Regions from separate parts of the Homo sapiens genome. Here all the other regions are linked to region 1. Evidence: promoter capture Hi-C in human tissues and cell types (Jung and others, 2019). All regions are on one chromosome and are shown on one strand. The core of a region is centred on a gene start or on the middle of the fragment in contact, and the rest is flanking DNA. Distances in the headings are between cores, read along the strand shown. Region 1 holds the start of POSTN (periostin). Region 2 has its middle 53 kb from the start of CSNK1A1L. Region 3 has its middle 180 kb from the start of CSNK1A1L.

Region 1 (3,997 bases), core at 648-3,147:
GAGGGCCAAACCAGGAGTAGAAACAACATCATTTACTCACACGGATTCTATACCCAATCCTGAGCCATGTGATCTGCTTCCTTCTGGCCTCCATGTCACATGGATTCAGGAAGAAATCTGAGTTCTAATAGTAATATTGGAGATGCAGGGAGAACTTCTTTATTCACGTATGTATTCCTTTCTTTTCTTTAAATAACTCTCACAATTTTGGTCAGTATTTTCAAGAAGAATGGTGTGTACACCCAGGGGAAGGCATATACATCATGATGTTGTTTTTGGAACTGACATATTATGAAAAAAAAAAGAGACTTACGTTTTCTGTCCACAGATGGACTTTTTATACCAGTTCTTACAAGTGCTGAAGTATTTCTTTTTGGTGCCCAAAATCTGTTGAAGGGCACAGACATTTGGGCTGGAGGATAGAGGGAAAGGAAAAAAGTTAATGTCCTAATAATGACTAGTTTTTCGTATCTAAAGATTGGTTGATAGAAGAAAATGTTGAGATGTGGATTTGATATCCAAAGACATGATTCTAGCCTTGCACAAATCTAATTATTGACACAATCCTACTGAATTGTTGAAAAACCGAAAGTCTACAGGAGGTGGCAGGGAGAGAGAGAAAAATTATACATTTCTGAGAGTAAAATACAAGCTTTTCAAAAAGTTAACCAACTAGGACTATTCAAACAGTATGAACGTAATTTTATTTCTATGTGCCTTATTACTTTTAATGGTAGATAATCTACTGACCCTTTTTAAACCAAGCATGTGCTCATTTGGAGGATGGCCATAACTTCAGGGCTCTCTGGAACAATGAGAGGTCAGAGAGCAAAAGAGACAAGGTTTATTATGTACACAGACACTATACTCTGTAATTTTCTAGGTAAGTAATCACAGAAGTAAATGTGCTAAAATTAACTTTGAAACAATATGGTTGCACAAAGGAGAATTTATCTTTTTGAATGGAAGTAACAGATCAGAACATCCTCTGTCACAATTTTAAGGTTCCCCTTCCCCTCTTAAAGGGACAGAAGTCTTTTTTCACTGTAAGTCAAAGAAGCTTGTGAACATTATGAAAATTCCTGTGAGGCATAGGAAGAAGTGCCAAGATCCGCTTAAAAAATTATAAATGGTTGGATAAGTTACAAAATTATGTGTAATTTTAAAAATGCTTAGTTGTAGTTGCATTAGTTCTATAAAATATAAATTACCTTTGCAAATTTTACAGAATTCAGAGTTTAAAAGTAACTTAAATGCTTCAAAGAATTCAGAGAACTAGTTACATTACCCAGTATTTAACCTTCATATGTAATTTAAATAAAATTTTCTCTAACATCATGTGAGATATTTCAATGCTGTTTGCATACATATGATAGTTCCTAACAATAGATTTTTTAATTTTGAAAACTCAATTTCAGATTTTTGGAAGAAAATAAAAACATAAATAAATGGAATTATAAAAGAATGCCCAGCTAAATTGTGTTAATTAGATTAGAATTATATAACATTTCATAAGAAAGCAATTATATTCAAGGTATTTAGAGAGCAATTAAGTCTTAAAGCTTAAAAGTGCATAGATAAATCACAGAATACTCACATTTTCCTTTTTTTCCTATTACTTTATAATAATTAGGAAAAAAAACCCTGAGGCATATATGAGAAACTTTATGCATACTTGAACATCTAACAAGCTGAGGAAAAAGAAAAATGGTTTATAAAACCAAACCACTCACTTACCCTTGGTCCCGACCCCTGATACGACTATGAGCCAAGATCTTGTCATAATGATTGTTGGCGTTTATAGGGTTAACAATAAGCAGCAATAGTAGAGAAAACATGGGTAAAAAGGGAATCATCTTGAGTCTCTCCGTTGCAGTTAGTCCCCGAAGAGAACTGGCAGTGGGCTTTGGAGAGCTCAGAATTTATATACATGTCAGAGTTGTGGGAGGGAACACTGCATCAACCTGAGAGTCTGAACTCTTTCCAGGAAGCATCGGCAACTTCAAATTGCCAGCTAAGATTTGTTTTGGTTAGTTATATTTAAGGAACACATTGAGCTACTTTTCCTTTTCATTATAAAGAAGGTACTTATTTTTAATCATATGAACAATTGACTCACTGCATGTTTAAGTCTCAGTTTTATTCCTTTGTATCTTAGAGGGTTTTTAAGAAAAATTCTTTTGTTGAGTTTTAAGAGATATTCTGCAATCCTTTCCAGAGTAGAATGTATAATGTCTGTGTGCTCAAGATTATTGTTAGGTGTTATTGCAGTTCACATCAGAACTGAAAGATTATTATTATTATTATTTTTACCAGAAAACAAAGGTAGATGCGAGTCTGACAATCACAAGGGGGTAAAGGCTGTTGATTAAAAACAAACTCTGGATAGATTTAAAACTTGTGTAAGATATGAAATAAGAATTCTAACTTGCTGAAGAACCATGTAGGAGAGTCCATATTTTCCTTGCTATCGTACAAAAAGGAGAGCTACCTCTCATTTCCTTTCTTTTTCAAATATCAAGGAACATATAGAGTTAACATAAATCTACTCTGACAAATTTCTCTAAGGTTTGAAATGAAGCAGAAAGGAAAAACATTTGTGCTTTATTGTTTTTCATGACACACTTTATGTGATGTTGAACATGTCTATGCAGCACATCTACTGATAACCACTGGTGAAAAGCAGCCAATATTGGAAGCAAGTGTTACGAATCTAGAGATAACTAGAACAATTAAATACATATTAGGAAACATGGACATTGCCAAAATGATTCTTCTGATTTTATCAAGAATAACTAAAGCCTTTCAATGTTACACTATGCAATCCCTAGCCAAAGGAATGTGCGTTCTTACTACTCCATGCATATGTCAAATGTTCAGAAAACTTTGGATAAAAGAAATCTGAATATCAGAGGGAAACAATGAGCTGAAATGGTAACCACAATCAGCTTCCTTGAATAAACAAGCTGCACACCATCCTAAAGTGTAATTCCAATCCATTTTGCTACAAGATGCTCCCTCTGTAATGTCATATCCATGTTCTTTTCCCACTGGTGAGGTAGAGAGATTTTGTCAGAATTCTCCTTGTTGTTCTATTGGGAAGGCTTTAGGGGAACTGGACTGAACTAGAGAGGATTCTGAGTATCCTGAGTTATGCTTAAACTCACTATGGGATATTAAAATATTCTACAACTTGCTGCTTAGTTTATTAAGAAAGCACACAGTGAAACCACAAATGCTGAAATATGATCGAGAGGCCATTTCAATATGAAAATCTTGGGATTAAGTTATAGAAAATGAAGGGGCAATTCAAAAGAAGAGCTGGAGAGGAGATAGCATAAAAGTTAAATTATATTCTGACCCTGGTCCTTTGTGGAAGGAAGAGTTTAGTCTATCATTTACATTTCTCTGAATGGAATCATTCTGACTTTATGAAGTCATCTTTTGCTTTATATTATAGCTTTCTATTACTCTTATGTTGTGCAAATGGCAGGTGGTCAGTAACTGCTTATTGATTAGGACGGATAAACTATCAATATTATTAAATTAGCTGTTAGGACATTCCTGGTTAAATGGATATATAAAAGTCTTCAACTCTAGACCAGTTAGACATTATAATATAGATTACACTGCTACTAATGCCACACTTTTCATCTTTAGACTGATGTAACTACTTACAGACCTTTTTGTAATGAAGCTGATATCTGCTCAAATCCAATAGGGTTTGACTGGAGGTGAAGGATGAGGTACTCAGAGAAAGAGATATAGACTTGTGTAATAAGTATCAAGGGTAAAAAAATATATATTTTTAAATACAGTCCGGAATGATAACTGATAGACCTGATTGTGAATACAAGGAGTGAAGGAAGAATCAAAATTTCCTGCCATGTTGCCTGCTTTCTTAATATTGCCTGGAACGAATTAAAATTTTATTGATTATTTTCAAGAACAATTTTAACCTAGTCGTTCTTTGCAACCAGTTTTATGCACTAGTATT
Region 2 (3,997 bases), core at 421-2,920, 440 kb before region 1:
ATAATAAGCTCCTTTTTTCTTAAGGTGGTCTGAGTGACTCTTAACACTTTTCTTTTTAAAGAATTAATTTTCCCCAGTATCTCTAACAATGGTGCTATGTGGTGCCATCATGGCTCATGGCAGTCTTGAACTACTGGGCAAAAGTGATCCTCCTGCCTCAGCTGCCTGAGTAGCTGGGATTATAGGCAATTTTGTTTTTAATTGTGGTTACTATCACATTACATAAAATTTACCAGCTTAAACATTTTTGAGTATACAGTTCACTAGTTGTAAGTATATTCATTGTCGTGTAACAGATTCCTACACTTTTTCATTTTGTAAAACTGAAACTCTGTGCCCATTAAACACCAATTTCTCCTCTCTAAGCCCTTGGCAGCCACCTTTCTACTTTCTGTTTCTTTGATATTGACTATTTAATTTATTTATTAAATTTTTAATAATTTCAGCTTTAGATATAGGTGGTACATGTGCAGGTTTGTTATCTGGGTATATTGCGTGATGCTGAAGTTCAGGGTATGGTTGGTTCTGCCACCCAGGTACAGAGCACAGTACCAATAGTTAATTTTTCAACCCTTGTGCCCCTCCTTCCCCTCTCTAGTAGTCTGCAATGTCTAATGTTGTCATCTTTATGTCCATGAGCACCCAGTGTTTAGATCCCGCTTATATGTGACCATGCAGCGTTTGGTTTCCTTTCCTGCGTTAATGGCCTCCAGCTGCATTCATGTTTCTGCAGAGGACATGATTTCATTCTTTTTTATGAGTGCATGGTATTCCATGCCGTATACGTATCACATTTTCTTTATCCAATCCGCTGTTGGACAACAAGGTTTATTCCATGTCTTTGCTATTATGAAGAGTGCTGCAATGAACATTCGAGTGCATGTGTCTTTTGGGAAGAATGGTTTATTTTCTTTTGGATATATATACCCAGTAATGGGGTTGCTGGGTCAAATGGTAGTCCTAAGTTTTTTGCTTAGGATTGCTTCATCTATCTGGGCTCTTTTTTGGTTCCATGTGAATTTTAGAATAGTTTTTTTTTTTTTTCTAGTTCTGTGAAAAAGGACATTGATAGTTTGATAGGAATAGCATCAAATCTATAGATTGCTTAGGGCAGTATGGCCATTTTAATGATAGTGATTGTTGCAACATGTAAGCATGAAATATTTTACCATTTGTTTGAGTCATCTATGACATCTTTCAGCAGTGTTTCCTTGTAGAGATCTTTCATCTCCTTGATTAGATGTATTCCTAGGTAGTTTTTTTTTTTGTGGCTATTGTAAATAGGATTGCATTTTTAATTTGGTTCTCAGCTTGAATGTTGTTGGTGTATAGAACTGCTACTGATTTTTGTACATTTATTTTGTATCCTGAAACTATTGAAGTCATTTTTGAGTTCCAGGAGCCTTTTGGCAAAGTCTTTAGGGGTTTTTAGGTATAGAATTATATTGTCAGCACAGAGAGATAGTTTGATTTCTTCTTTTGCTATCTGGATGCCTTTTATTTCTTTCTCAAGAGAAAGAAATAAAAGGCATCCAGATAGGAAAAGAAGAAATATACTATGTTGGTAGTACCTAGTATGTCTACCGCTATGTTGGTTGACATAGTACTATGTCCAGTAGTATGTTGAATAGGAGTGGTGAGACTGGGCATCCTTGTCTTGTTCCAGTTCTCAAGGGAAATGGTTTTAGTTTTTGCCCATTCAGTATGATGTTTGCTGTGGGTTTTTCACAGATGGTTCTTATTATTTTGAGATATGTTCCTTCAATGCCTAGTTTCTTGAGGATTTTATAATGAAGGGATGTTGGATTTTAGCAGAAGCTTTATCTGTGTCCTTTGAAATGATCACTTTTTTTGTTTTTAATTCCGTCTATGTGAAGAATCATATTTATTGATTTGCATATGTTGAACCAATCTTGAATCCCAGGGATAAAGACTGCTTGATTGTGGTGAATTAACTTTTTTATGTGCTGATGGATTTAGTTTGCTAGCATTTTGTTGAGGATTTTTGCATCTATGTTCATCAGGGCTCTTGGCCTGTAGCTTTCTTTTTTTTTATTGTGTCTTTGCCAGGTTTTGGTACCAGGATGATAAGGGTTTTGGTATCAAGATGATGAGGGCTTTGGTATCACAAGGAGTGAGGGAGGCATCTCTCCTCCATGATTTTTTGGAATAGTTTCAGTAGAATTGGTGCTGGCTCTAGGTTGAACATCTGGTAGAATTTGGCTGTGAATACATCTGATCCAGGTTTTTTTTTAGGTGATTATGTTTTTTATTACTGATTTGGTTTTGGAACTCTATATTGGTCTGCTCAGGGTTTCAATTTTTTCCTGATTCAATCTTGGAGATTGTGTATTTACAGGAATTAATCAATTTCCTCTAGATTTTCTAGTTTTTGTGCATAGGGGTGTTCATAATAGTCTATGAGCATCTCTTGTATTTTTGTGGAATCAGTTGTAATGTTGCCTTTGTTGTTTGTGATTGTGCTTATTTGAATCTTCTTTTTCTGTTAATCTAGCAAGTAGTCTATTGATCATGTTTAGCCTTTCAAATAACTTTTGGCTTCATTGATCCTTTGTATGAATTTTTGGGGCTCAGTTTTGTTCACTTCTACTCAGATTTCAGTTATTTCTTTTTTTCCTGTTAGATTTGGACTTTGTTTCTTTTGTTCCTAGTTCCTCTAGGTGTAATTTCAGATTGCTAATTTGAGATCATTCTACATTTTGAGTTAGGAATTTAGTGCTATGAACTTCCCTCTTAATACTGCTTTTGCTGCATTCCATAGATGTTTGTATTTTGTAGTTCTGTTTTCATTTATTTCAAATAATTTTCCTGGTGTCTGCCTTAATTTCATTATTTACCCAAATGTTATTCAGGAGTAAGTTGTTTAATTTCCATATATTTGTGTGGTATGAGAGATATTCTTGGTATTGATTTCTGTTTTTACTCCACTGTATTCTGAGAGTATGGTTGGTATGCTTTCAGTTTTTTGAATTTGTTGATACTTGCTTTATGGCTGAGCATGTGGTCAATCTTAGAGTATATTCTGTGTGCAAATGAGAAGAATGTATATTCTGTGTTTGTTGGATTGGATATTCTGTAGATGTCTATTAGGTCTAATTTGTCAGGTATTGAATTTAAGTCCAAAATTTCTTTGTTAGTTTTCTCCCTTAATGATTTATCTAATGCTGTGAGTAGGGTGTTAAAGTCCCCCACTGTTTTGTGTGGCTGTCTTTTCGAAGGCCTAGAAATACTTGTTTTATGAATCTGGGCACTCCAATGTTTGTTACGTTGGGCGTATATATATTTAGAATAGTTAAGTCCTTTTGTTGAATTGTACCCTTTATCATGTAATGCCCTTCTTTGTCTCTTTTTACTGTTGTTCATCTAAAGCCTGTTTTGTCTGATGTGAGAATAGTGACCCCTGTTCTTTTTTGTTTTCTGTTATTGTGGTAGGTCTTTCTTCCACCTTTTACTTTGAACCTGTGTGTGTGATTACACATGATATGAGTCTCTTGAAGAAGGCAGATGGATGGGTCTTGTCTTTTTTTTAAATTGAACTTCCTACTCTGAGTTTTTTAGTAGAGTATTTAGAGCATTTATGTTCAAGGTTAATATTGATATATAAGGTTTTGATTCTATCATGAAGTTGTTAGCTGGTTCCTTTTTTGTTTCTATCATGTAGTGGCCTCATAGGGTCTGTGAGCTATGTAGTTAAGTGTGTTTTTGTGGTGGCAGGCACTGTTATTTTGTTTTCATGTTTAAGGCTCTCTTAAGGATCTCTGGTAATATTGGCCTATTGGTAATAAATTCCTTTAGTGTTTGCTTGTCTGGAAAATATTTTCTTTCTTCTTTGCTTACGAAACTTAGTTTGGTGGAATTTGAAATTTTTGGTTCAAATTTCTTTCTTTAACAATGCTGAAAATAGGCCCCCAAGCTCTCGTGACTTGTAAGGTTTCTGCTGAGAAGTCTTCTGTTTGCCCGATGGGGTTCCCTTTGT
Region 3 (3,997 bases), core at 810-3,309, 310 kb before region 1:
GGCTCGGATGTTTTCTCTAATTCGGTGCACTCTACATATGTTCTCCTCGATCTCTGCTCCTAAAGATGAAATATTTGTAGCCACATAAAGAAATTTACCATGATTTCTCAATGCAATATGGAATCTTCTTGTGTATAATCTTTCTCTATTTATTGCTTTCTATATAACGTGTGTTTTAATAGCTTTCAGAGATAATTTGTTTTATTTTTCCAACTCAAATGAGAGACTCTAGCAATGAATATATATAAGATAAAGTGGATAAAAAAGGTGAGAAATGTCAAGGCAAAAAAATGTAGATAATTTAGACTTCTGTGGATGTCTCTCAAATAATACTCTTCAGATTATGGCTTATTCCATTTATGTTTAAGGCTAGCACTATGTAAAACCTCTGTCTCTTAACCCAAAGTATAACTTGCTCTTTCTAAATAGGAAACTAGAAATAATTTTGAAAACGAATCAATAAAAATTTCAAATTATTGCATGAGTAGAACTCAAATTAAAATCTGTCTAGTAAGCTACATTATGCAGTTGCCAATGAAAGCAGCAGGAAGTGTCAACTGTTTGGGAGGATCTGCGGTGTACTTGGACTTGCCTGGCATTGTTATTTGCTTCTAATCACTCTGGGAAGTGTTGTGGTGGAAAATAAGGCTAAGAGGAAATGTGCAGAACAGCCAAGGAAGCTCCTGGGAACAATCAAAGCAGGCTATGCCAAAAGGTTCCTGATATTCCTTCTAGACGCTCTGTACTGCTTCTCTGCGCTATCACTTCACAAAAGAGGGGCTCTGCTTTCTTCCACTTCAGATTTTATGTTGGTTTGCATCCGTAGATTATCTCCACCTGTGTTTAAAATGTCTCATGTGAAATGCCTGCAAGAGAGTGGGATCACTGGGTTATCCTGTATCTGAGCAGTGTAAAGGAAAATTTCTCTAATTTTGGTAACTATCCAAGGTTTGGGTTTGAAGAAGAACATATACAGCATGATTTAAAGGGAAACAAGGACTATTTATTGATATATTGGCCATATAGCTCTTCGTCTTTTAAATTGTTTTTTTAAAAATATGCATTGAGGATTTAAAAATCCTTTAAAACTAGTTTTAGAAGAACTGGTATAATATTAAGTAGATTATTTTAACTTACCTAATAGTATGATTCAAAGTAGCACAAGTTTTTTTTTTTTTGCTTTTCCCACAAAATCCATTTTAAAAAGCTATAATTGTCTTTATATCTATATGCTGATGTTGTGTGCAATATAGTGGAATGAAATGAGTCTGGGTCATACTTAGTTCAAAATATTATTCTACCTCTTCTTTTTTATGACTCCTTGAATAAGTTACTTAACACTCTTGCATCTCAATTTTTCTTCCTGTGATGTGGTTAAGTATTTAATTGTAAAAAAATGCAATCATTTATGAAAGTATTAGCTTAGTGCTTGACACAGTGAGCACTTGATAATAGTTACTTTGAATTGGAATATGGTCTCTATTGCTCCTCTGTCCTTACCTCCATGGATCATCCAACTGGGAGGTAGAAATCTTTTTCACATCACCTTTGTAATTGTAGAGTTGCTAAATAGCCTTATTTACTACAAATTGTTACTTTTAAGAAGCATATTTCTTCTAACCATTTGAAAAAGGAGGAAGAGTAGAATTCAGCAAATATCCAGTATATACTGTGTTCTGGGAGTAAGGAAGACAAATATTTCTTGGTATCCAACTCATGTTGTTAGCAAGTAAGTGCCTGGAGCACGGTAGGTTGTTTTGTAGTCTGTTACATGATAGGCCCTGTGCCAGGCTCTTTGCACATTGCTGGCGGTGGAGAGAAAGGTCCTATCCACAGAGTTTGTCTTTCCATGTGGAAGGAATTCCACAAGTATAAGACTCTTGGTGGCTTATCCAACTCTCTCCTTCAGTGCTCCCAAGATTACTCGTGAGTTTGGAAAGAGGAATTTTGCATATGTAGCCTAATTCTTTTTATCTCATCAGTGTCAGCCTGCAGAGAGAACATATTCATCTATGACCTTCCTTCTATTCCAGTGGAGAGATCTACAGCCTTCAGTATTGCCTGTGACTGGAGTAACTCTGTTTAATTTGAGGATCCAGTATTAGAAAGCTCGTGATTACTGAACACTGAAGCCACATTCATGAATCCATCAGTAATAAAAGCTATCTTTGTTTTCCTTCTGCCTAACCCTGCTTTAATCTCGCAAACATTTCTAAAGTTAGGAGGGAAAAGGATGTTTTCACTTATTAGCTTTAAAAAATCCTATTATACATTTAACCCACATATCTGCTGACTTGTTCGCCTCTATCTGCATAACAGCAGGATCTCAATACCTCCCAGTTATTTCCATATATTTCCAGAATGATGTCTCAAAATGTCCACACTCTAGATGTGGTTGTCCTTTGGGCCCAGACTTTTTCTTCTTATGTTTTAGCTCCCAAGTGCATAGAACTGCTACCTGAGAAGGTTCATTACTGTCATTGCACATCATGGTTTACTAATTTACTTTAAGATAAATGTCTCCCCCCAAAATACTTTGCATCAAGCTATAGCCCTTGAGTTGCCAAAATGTTGTAGGGTTTCATGGATGGCCTTTTCCCAATACTATCCCTCAATTTAAAATAAAATTAAAGGCCCAGAGAACCTCTTCTTGGGCTCAATGTCTTACAGAATCTTTCATGGAGAAGAGTTTAGTAATTTTTGACCTCATCCCACTAATTATACGGGCTGAAACATAGAACTGTAGTTCTGTTTGGAACAGACATGATAGCATCCCTACCATTTATCTCTTCTCAGAGTATAAAACTCCAGTCACAAAGTCCCTTTTCTTATTCTTTTTGCAAAACACAAGCTCCTATGTATATCACTTGCTGCAAATGGTTATCTTGGATATAGGTGTCAGAATGAGGGTTGATGGATGGTGGCCTGGTGATGAGCCCTGACTTAATCTGCCTTAGACCATAGATTGTGTACCTTTTGTTTTACTTCTTTTCAGTGTTACTCTAAACACCCTTGGGTGTTTACTACTATTATAGAAGACAGGTTGTATAGGTATCTCCATAATCTGATATATATTTATCTTCATGAATAGAGAGGCATGGTATGTGAATAATTGGACTTTATGTATTCACCATTGCTTAGCCAAGTGCATTTCCATGAAAATTATCCTGTGGAAATGACAATATTCATTTCATTAAGAGGTGGTTGGTTAGAGAGTCACAAAACATATTTTTGTTCTCCTAGTTATGTGCAGGTGTTTGGAGGCAACTCAAACCTCAGACTTTGTGGACCAAAATGAATCAGAGACCTGAAATTGACTCCTCTTTTCCACTTTGGCTGACTTCCTTTAGTTCATGAAATTAATCTCTGAGTCTGAGAACTCATTTTAAGGTCGACTATGTGTACAGATGAGGATAAGAATAAGAGATGTAGGTAGAGCAATGAAGAGGTAACACGACATAAGCATTTAGAAAGCAGTGTTTAATCCTTGACTTTCCACTAAAATGGCCATTAAAAATTAATCCTACCCCAACTCCGGCTACATACAAATAAAGTAATTTTCAAGGAAAATAAAAAACACAAGAGAAAAATCTCATCCTAAAGTGTGTTTACATTTTCCAAGAGATTTCAAAATGGCAACAATAATTCATTTTCAATTGTTTCCACATTTTGCATTGAAAATATGTTGGCTATGAAAATTACTAGAAAACAAATACAGAAATGTGTTCTTTACCATTGATATAGATGCGTCGTCATGAATCTAATATCTATTTAGCCTTCTTCCTTTCATTTTGGCGGGGGCTGAAATTTCAGCAGGGACAGTGAAAAGCCCATGGAAATAAAAATTAGAATGTCTCCAGAAAGAAAGAGGAAGTAAAAGGCAAGTACTAACTGGTAAATATCATTTGAGGTGATTTCAGATAAGGCCATAACCCAGGTTAAAAATATATCAAAACACAATTGTCATTATTATAACATAAACTAATAAATATTAATT

Evidence for each region. Contacts are between HindIII fragments. The study calls those that stand out against the background at their distance.
Region 2: a fragment that was not itself captured here is called in contact with the fragment with the promoter of POSTN in region 1 in 1 of the 25 tissues and cell types used here (dorsolateral prefrontal cortex).
Region 3: a contact is called between a fragment that was not itself captured here and the fragment with the promoter of POSTN in region 1, in 1 of the 25 tissues and cell types used here (dorsolateral prefrontal cortex).

The regions. Positions count from the first base shown.
Region 1 is chr13:37,596,871-37,600,867 of GRCh38, forward strand. POSTN (periostin) reads right to left here and starts at 1,898. Exons shown (of 23, transcript NM_006475.3): 1 at 1,738-1,898; 2 at 314-412. The coding sequence starts at 1,856. The HindIII fragment of the contact is 6,079 bases long and covers 1,312-3,997 here.
Region 2 is chr13:37,156,990-37,160,986 of GRCh38, forward strand. No RefSeq gene overlaps it. Among named protein-coding and RNA genes, the nearest start is that of CSNK1A1L, 53 kb to the left of the region's middle. The HindIII fragment of the contact is 4,524 bases long and covers 1-3,932 here.
Region 3 is chr13:37,287,611-37,291,607 of GRCh38, forward strand. No RefSeq gene overlaps it. Among named protein-coding and RNA genes, the nearest start is that of CSNK1A1L, 180 kb to the left of the region's middle. The HindIII fragment of the contact is 4,884 bases long and covers 1-3,997 here.